Regions from separate parts of the Homo sapiens genome. Here region 1 is linked to region 2. The links are contacts of gene promoters, found by promoter capture Hi-C in blood cells and fetal thymus (Javierre and others, 2016). All regions are on one chromosome and are shown on one strand. Each heading gives the region's core, a stretch centred on a gene start or on the middle of the fragment in contact. The rest is flanking DNA. Distances are from core to core; before and after follow the strand shown. Region 1 overlaps AKIRIN1 (akirin 1). Region 2 holds the start of FHL3 (four and a half LIM domains 3).

Evidence for each region. The method cuts DNA at HindIII sites, captures the fragments that hold promoters and counts their contacts. A CHiCAGO score of 5 or more calls a contact.
Region 1: a fragment that was not itself captured here is called in contact with the fragment with the promoter of FHL3 in region 2 in 1 of 17 cell types (erythroblasts); the score reaches 5.1 in erythroblasts.

What each region holds. Positions count from the first base shown.
Region 1 is chr1:39,004,180-39,008,815 of GRCh38, forward strand. It overlaps AKIRIN1 (akirin 1), which reads left to right. Exons shown (of 5, transcript NM_024595.3): 5 at 1-1,880. Among named protein-coding and RNA genes, the nearest start is that of AKIRIN1, 15 kb to the left of the region's middle. The HindIII fragment of the contact is 952 bases long and covers 1,671-2,622 here.
Region 2 is chr1:38,004,175-38,008,255 of GRCh38, forward strand. FHL3 (four and a half LIM domains 3) reads right to left here and starts at 1,340. Exons shown (of 6, transcript NM_004468.5): 1 at 1,183-1,340. RefSeq lists an enhancer at 1-158 and silencers at 1,011-1,370, 1,401-1,460. The HindIII fragment of the contact is 9,980 bases long and covers 1-4,081 here.

The DNA of each region.
Region 1 (4,636 bases), core at 897-3,396, 1.0 Mb after region 2:
GCAGGTCCATTTTATACAACTTGAAAGACCGTAAAACTTTCTGGTTGCCACAAGCATATCTTTCTTTTCTGCTCATCCAATAAACAGCTGTGCCCTACTGTGATAGATTTTCCAAACAAAAATACCTGGAGCAGCAGTTTAGCAAAATATGCCTTCAGTGGCATTCAACAAATGGAGTTTCCCCAAGCACAGTTCTGTAAGAAGTGCGTGTGAGAGTGTGTGTATATGTGTGTATGTGTATTTTAAGTTATTATTTGTATTGTGCAAAAATTTTTTTTTGATCTTGGGGATTCTGGCTGTGAATTTGGTGCACGACAATTATGGTAAAAAAACATTTGCTTGGTCTAAAGAAGATCATTAATGTTTTGTGACCATACAAGTTGTAACAGTGGATTGTTTTTATGTGTAGGTATTGTTAAATACAGGGACTGTTTCCAGGCACAGAATATGAATCGTAAGTTAGGATGGACATTAGATGTGATTATGATGATAAAGCGAAGGTCTGCGGTCCTATATCTACAGACACGTGGTGAGAAATTAGAACAAACTGGAGACGGGCCATTGACACATGGACTCTGCCTGGGCATGTTAGGTTAATTCTTTGACTCCAAGCCTTAAAATACTCACATGGAGTCAGCGCTCACCTCATTCACACAATTATCATAGAGCTCCCTGGACACTGAACCTCTAAAGGGAAAAGGTCTACCCTGGAGCCAGGAGCATCAGGGTTGGCTTGGGAGCATGAGAGGTGAGCCCAGGGCTAGGCCTGGGCCAGGCCCCGGCAGCACTGCTACTTGGGAGGAGCCACTTCACCTTTGTATTAGTTATTAAAAAATATAATTTGGGCTGGGCGCAGTGGCTCACGCCTGTAATCCCAGCACTTTGGGAGTCCGAGGCATGCGGATCACTTGAGGTCAGGAGTTCGAGACCACCCTGGCCAATATGGTGAAACCCCATCTCTACTAAAAATACAACAAAGTTAGCCGGGCGTGGTGGCAGGCGTCTGTAATCCCAGCTGCTTGGGAGGCTGAGGCAGGAGAATCACTTGAACCCTGGAGGTGGCGGTTGCAGTGAGCACAGATCATGCCACTGCACTCCAGCCTGGGCAACAAAACGAGACTTCGTCTCAAAAAAAAAAAAAAAACATAGAATTTGGATCCTTTGGTCGGGTTCTCCCAAATTCTTTTGAGGTGTCCATGGTCAACTGCTTCAGCTTTGTTTTGGCAACCCCCTGCCCGAAGTCGCATATAGGCTGTTCTTCACCTTGTTTCCAAGGCTGAGGAACAGAAAGTAGCCTCTGTTTTGAGGAGGTGGAAGTTAAGTATACATTTATTTTTTACTGTGACTTGTTCAGGACCACATTTTACAAAATGCCTTGTTTCCTTCATTGTTTCTGGAAAGGAAAGTTCTATTAATATTGTTTTACTTTGAATATAGAATAGTTTTTTTAATTAGGGCTTATTTTGAAAAATTCTGAGTTTAATTCAAATGTATGCCAATACCTTCCAAAGTAAGGTAATATTCAGAGACAGTTGTTGTGATCAGATGGCTTAGAGAAATTTCTGGAATATTCACATTCGAAGATTCCTTATTAATGAATGTCTTTGACTTAAATCTAACCAAAAACTGCAACATTATTCTTTGTACATTTTCATTATATAGTGTTAACAAGCTTAGTTGCAAACAAATAAAATACTTAAGCTATTTGTTTACCTTGCCTTCTTAATACTGTGATAATGTTTATTAATTCAAATAACTTATGTGAGAGCTGCTATAACCATTTCCCCAGTTCAACATTGCATTGAAAATTTATGGACCTTTAAAAAAAAAAGCCCAACAGTGATTTTTTTTTAATAATTAAAGAATGATTTTACTTTGTATTTGAAGGGTGATTTGTTTCATCTCTTCTTTTTTCAGGGTAGTCACTTGTTCCTAAAAGAGGAACATAGCAGTGGCTGTAATGGGAATGGCTCTGCAGTGGGCTAGTCACACCAAAATAAAGAAAGGGCAGCTGTGGGAGCCATCAGAAGCTGTGGAGGCTGGACTGGTAATGGGGAATGCTGCCCCACTGAAGTCTTGTTTTAGAGATCAGTGTGATGTGCTCACTTAACTATAAAGTGTCAGTCCCCATTCCAACTAAGTGGCTCCTGGCTGGGAAGTAGAGTAGGTTTCTCTAAGGAAAATGACACCTGCTCACCACCCGCCCCACTATACCACATTGTTGTTAGGCTATCATATAATGATAAGGTAGCCCTCTGAGGCCACAAGGTAAGACCAAACCACCAGGGCTGGGTTTTGGGATCCCCTCTAAAGAGACCACACATGTTTGTTTAGTGTTTATAATCTAGAGAAAAGACAACTGGGACAGAAAATGGGGACCTGGAAGGTAGGTCTCAGACTGGTGAATGAATTTTTCCCTAGACCTTGATTTCCAGAGCTTGAATTTAAGGGCACTCCCAGGTAGAGAAATGTCTTTGTCCCATGGAAATTATAGACCAAGGAAGACGTCAACCTATAAAAACGTATAAGGGTTTCTCAGGAACAGTGTTTTCAGAATATCTGGTGAGCTAGCTAATTTTTTTCTCTATTTTAATTCCAGTTATTATCCTTGATAAAGTCTTAAGCTTAAGAGGAAAAAGTAAGTGTCCATCCTTGGGTCAGAAGTTAAAAGGAAGATCAGAGCTCCTAAGGCAGTGATAATTGTTAAGATCTTCCAAAGGGGAAGACCATCAGAGAGTACAAGAATTTAAGCCAGCGGGTGGCGCACGCCTGTAATCCCAGCACTTTGGAAGGCTGAGGGGCAGATCACCCGAGGTCTGGAGTTTGAGACCAGCTTGACCAACATGGTGAAACCCCATCTCTACTAAAATACAAAAATTAGCTGGGCGTAGTGGCGGGCGCCTGTAATCTCAGCTACTTGGAAGGCTGAGGCGGGAGAATCAACCTGAAACCATGAGGCGGAGGTTGCAGTGAGCCGAGATTGTGCCATTGCACTCCAGCCTGGCAACAGAGTTAAGACTATGTCTCAAAAAAAAAAAAGGATTTAAGCCAATCTTTCAAACCTGGTGAATCTTCTTACCATGGAGGATTGGTTGGCTAGCATAGTAAAGGACTGACTGCGTGGTTGTAGCTCTGTAGTTTGGTTTCTTCTCTGCCACTAATTTGGTTATGTCAGCCTTGCCAGATTACTAAACTTGCTGAAACATGGCTTGCTTACCTGTAAAATCGAGGTTAATAGTAGGTTCATATTGGGTTTTGTTTTCAAATGCAAGAAATCATCCATGTAAAGAAAGTATTTAGCACAGCTTAGGGCATAGACTATGCACTTTACAATGTTAGAGCAGGTTTCTTTATAGTAGTCTTCGTCAGACCTGGAGACCCAAACTTTTGTGTCCCAAGTAGTGATTCTCAGCTTTCCAATATGAATAGCCCCTTGTTAACATAAAGATCTCACTTTTTCTTATTAGAATTTGTACCTTTGTTTGATTAAGGAAATAAAAGATGAATGACAAATGAATTTGGTAATGCCTTTCTGTGAATCTGTATTCAGTATGTTTTGTATGTTAATATAGCAGGGTCATACAAAAACTGGCCTATTTTTGTAAAGTTTTGTAGAAACACTGCTACACCTATTCATTTGTCTGTGGCAGTTTTCACACTAACTCCAGACTTGAGTAGAGTAGGTGCTACAAAGACCAAAGCATGGGCCACAGAGCTGAAAATACTTACTCTGTGTCCTTTTACAGAAAAGTGTGCTGGCCTTTGCACTAAAGCATGAAGAAACATTTGGGAAAAAGCACACAGGCTGGGCACGGTGGCCCATGCCTGTAATCCCAGCACTTTGGGAGGCCGAGGCGGGCAGATCACCTGAGAATGGGAGTTCAAGACCAGCCTGGCCAACATGGAGAAATCCCATCTCTACTAAAAATGCAAAATTAGCCGGGCGTGGTGGTGCATTCCTGTAATCCCAGCTACTTGGAAGGCTGAGGCAGGAGAATCACTTGAACTTGGGAGGTGGAGGTTGAGGTGAGCCGAGATCACACCATTGCACTCCAGCCTGGGCAACAAGAGCAAAACTCTGTCTCAATTAAAAAAAAGAAAAAAGAGCAACAAACAAGGCAAAGTTACTTCATTTATAATCCTTGTTGCATCATGAGTTGGTCAACACTTACCCTAATTTGTCATTCTTAAGGCTGTTATACCTTAAGTTGAGGTGTGATGAAAATACCCTTTTTGCTTACAAATAAAAACTGATTGCCAAAGTAAGTATGTCACAGAAAAAGCTATTGAACAACTGTTTAGAGCAATGATTCTCAAGGATGGGGACACAGAGCATACTATTTGGGGAGGGAAAAAGATTTGAAATGACCAATTTTATTTCAAGCATTTTTAATTTTGGAATTTTAGGTACAAAAATGGGTGTGAGAATTTTGTTTAACAGAAAATAGCATGGCTTTAAAATAGTTTGTAAAATACTGTTCTTAAGGAACAGAGTGTAATAGTGCCCATGGGCTATTAAAAAGGAACAGAAACTTCTCTACTACTCTGGAGTCCTTTGTTGAAAACAGATTGAGGGAGTGCTGTAGTCTTCCAGAGCTACAGTTAAACTGGATAAGGTTGGACACCTGGAAAAAAG
Region 2 (4,081 bases), core at 90-2,589:
TGGGGAGCAAGATCCCGCAGCTGCTCTGGGGACATGAGAGGAACAGTTCATTCACCCTGGGTCCCCCAGGGCTGAGGCAGCCCATCCAAGATTTGAGTTCAAAAATAAGTTGGGGCTGTCTTGGTGGCTGTGTGTGTGCGTGGGGCTCTTCTTGATCTCGAACTTACTGTCTCAGGGCCTCTGCCTCATGGGGGATCGGTAGGCTCAGAGTTTCTGTTTCCCCACAGCCTCACCTCCCAATGGTTCAGGCCCGGGTAAGTCAGGGGCTGTCCTGGAAGCTGTCAGACCACCTAGGTCTCTCTGCCCCCACTTAGTCTCAGTTTCTGGTGTCTGTCTCTGCTTCACTCAGCATCTCTGTGTCTGGGCACACTTCAGTCTCTGTCTTTAGGTTTTGGACGGCTCTGTATCTTGACTGGCTGTCCCCCAGGGGGCCCATGCCTCTGTGGATCTCAAGTCTTGGTCTCTTCTTGTCTACATGGCTGAATGTCTCAATCCCCACCACCTCCCTTTCTCTGTCTCTGCATCCAAGTCTCTTTCGCCACCTCTGCACGCCTGAATGTCTCTGTCTCTAGTCTCTGAGCGTCTCTGCAGGCCTCAGAGAGCAGATTCAGCATGAGGCCAATGACGCCCAAGCCTCAGGGCACCTCCAAGGCCCGGGGAAGGGCCCTAGGGAATGTGTTCGCTGGGGTCCCACGTATGCTTTTTCTGAAAATGCTCCACAAAGCCTAGGACGGCCCCCATGCCTCGGGTCTGTCCACCAGTAACTCTGTACGCCCGGTGTGTCCTTGTTTCAGTGGTCTCGGTAGCCTCCTGTGCCTCGAGTCCCTGCCTGTCTCGGTCTCTCGCTCCACCGGGCTTTCCGAGAACCTCAGTTTCTCCAGCGCTTCTGGTCGGTCGGTCTGTCTGTCTCTCTCCGGCTTTTCTATTTCAAACTTAGCCCCCTCCCCCGCCCAACTCTCGCTGCCGCCCCCGCCCCCGCCCCGCCCGATAGCCCGGAGGGGTCCAGTCCCGGCGGGCGCTGTCCCGGGCTCGGCGTGCCCCGGGCACCCGTGGCCAGAGCCCGGCGGGTACAGGGGACCGGGGCCGCGGCTGGCCTCAGCCCTCCGCGGGTCCCTTCGCTCCCCGGCCTGGGCGCGGGGGCGGACCGCCAGGGCTGGGAGCCGGGGTCGGCGGGGCGCTCACCTCGAAGCGGGCGGCGGGAGCGGGGAGCGCGCGGCGCAGGCGGGGCCGGGAACCGGGCGCCGCGTCCCTCGGCGGCTCCTACCTGCGGGCCGGGCCAAGCGGGGGCCGAGCGAGCTGCCGGCGAGGCTGCCGACTGCAGACGGACCGTGTGGGCGAGTGGGAGCGCGGCCCCAACCCCTCCCCGAGGAAGTGAGCGCGGGCCCGCCCCGCCCGGACCCCGCCCCCGGCCCCCCAGCCCGCCGCGGGGGCCAGACCCCGCCCCCACCTCCCTTTCGGCCGCCAGTCGGCCCGGCCCCCTCCTCCCGCCCGGCCTAACCTGGCTCTCCCAACCTTCAAGCGGCCGGGACCCCGCCCCTGTCCCCTCCCCGCAGCCTCTGTTCTCCTCCCCTCCCACCCCCCATCCCCAGCTGCCAGAGGGAGACTGCTGTATTCCATCTCAGGCCGGCGACACGAGACCCCGCAGACCATGGTCCACTGGGGGAGTCCTCTGGCCTCCTCGGATCCCCCCACCCCTTCACCTTACCCCAGGGGTGACACTCAGCCCGGCCTTAATCCAGCCTGGAGGAGGACGTTTTGACTCTGCTGTCATGAGCCTGTCAGCGGGCACCAAGGTGTTCTCTGAAAACATGGGACGAAGAGAGGACCCCTCCCCACCATAGGGCCTTGACCTCCAAAGGGTTTTATTCCACAACTTTGAGTAGCAAAAACAGGGGTAACCACCTCCCCACTTCCAGCAGCCTCCTGACACTGAGAAGTCCTGCCTTGCCTGGGTTTCCGCAGTGCCCAGGAATAGTTTTGACCTTTGAGGCCCGGGGGAGACCCTAATCCTCGGCCCCATGATCTTTGGGCTTCTAGGGTGGGGTGTGAGGAGTGTGAGAGGATGGGGCACCTCAGGGGTGGTGGAGGAGAGGGGAGGGGACCTCTGCGGTGTCTGAGCCTCTGGCTTCCTCCCTGTGTCCGTGAGGGAGGACTGGCGCCTGCTAGGGACACGAGGCCCCTCCAGGTCCTTAAGGCCACCCCCCCTGGGATCCTCAGGCTTGTCACTAGGAATAAATAGCCTCAGTCTGGAAGAGGTGGGGGAGGGAGGGAGGCAGGAGGCTCTACTGTGCTGTTTGTGGAAACAAGAGACAACAAATCAACCCCGGAATAACCTTAGCATCTAGAGTGAAGATTCAGGTGCCCACAGAGGCCTCCCCACACCCCAGGCTGGGTGTAGCAGAGCTCTCACGGAGGAACTAACACCCTCCCAGGCTGGGGCTCCTGAGAACCTTTCCGTCCCATCTCTGCATCATGCCTGGGTTCCTGGGTCCCAAGTCACCCACCAGGTCTGGTTTCCTTTCAAAATTAAATCATTGCTTGCTTATTATTGCTGTTGTTGCCTAAATGGTAAGAGCCATGAAGGCAGGGCTCCGTTTTGTTCCCCACTGCCTTCTCAGTACTTACTCCAATATCCGGCACATAATAAACATCTGATGAATGAATGGATACCAGACACTGCTTCAGTATGTATGCCCCTCTAACATCCTCGGTTTGGATCACAGGCACCTGCTATCTGGAGTCCAGGCAGTGAGCATCCAGCCCATGGATGGGGCCTTTTTCTGGGATTTTTTTTTTTTTTTTTTTTTTTTTTTTTTTTGAGATGGAGGCTTGCTCTGTTGCCCAGGCCGGAGTGCAGTGGCGCACTCTCCGCTCACTACAACCTCCACCTCCCAGGTTCAAGCGATTCTTCTGCCTCAGCCTCCCAAGTAGCTGGGACTGCAGGTGTGCACCACCACGCCCGGCTAAATTTTTTTTTTGTATTTTTAGTAGAGACGGGGTTTCACCATCTTGGCCAGGCTGGTCTCAAACTCCTGACCTCAAGATCTGATCTGCCTGCCCCAGCCTCCCAAAGTGCTGGGACCACAGGCATGAGTGACCATGCCCAGCCTCTCTGGGATGTATCTTGCAGGTGTAAGAGACTCCCAGCCCAGGGGAGTGCAGTGAAGACTACTCAGCCTTGGTGGAGTGGGTACCAAGAGGAGGTCAGCTCTGGGGGACGGGAGGGCAAAGGTGGGGAGCCTTCAGAAAGCAAGGGGTTATGAGTGAGTACAGAAGGGGCCTGATAAAAGGCAGAGTATTGGAATCTCTGTTCTTGATGCATGGCTCTAATCTCTCCTAAATAGCCTTAATGAGAGCCAGTACTTCCTGAGTTCTTTCTTTGCACCAGTCCTGAACACTTTACATATATTGACATACCTGATTATTCAATAACTTTATTAAATATATGTGCATCTATATTTGTTTGTTTTTGAGACAGTGTGTTGCTCTGTCACCCAGGCTGGAGTGCAGTGGTGTAATCACGGCTCACTGTAACCTTAACCTCCTGGGCTCAAGCGATCCTCTTACCTCAGTCTCCCAAGTAACTGGGACTACAGGTGTGGGCCACCACACTGAGCTAATTTATTTTAATTTTAATTTTTTGTAAAGGCAGGGGTCTTATTAAGTTGCCCAGGCTGGTCTTGAACTTCTGGGCTCAAGCAATCCTCTTGCCTCAGCCCCACAAAGTGCTGGGATTACAGGCATGAGCCACTATTCCTGGCCTAAATATATATTTTCATCCTCATTTTAAAGATGAGAAAATGGAGGCACAGAGAGATTAAGTAACCTGGCAAGGGCGACACAGGTAATAATGGCAAAGCTAGGATACAAATCCCAATGGTTGGCCGGGCTTGGTGGCTCTTGCCTGTAATCCCAGCACTTTGGGAGGCTGAGGCAGGAGGATTGCTTGAGCCCAACAGTTTAAGACCAGATCTGGGCCAGGCGCGATGGCTCACGCCTATAATCCCAGGACTTTGGGAGGCCAAGGCGGGCGGATCACGAGGTCAGGAGATCAAGACCATCCTGGCTAACGCAGTGAAAC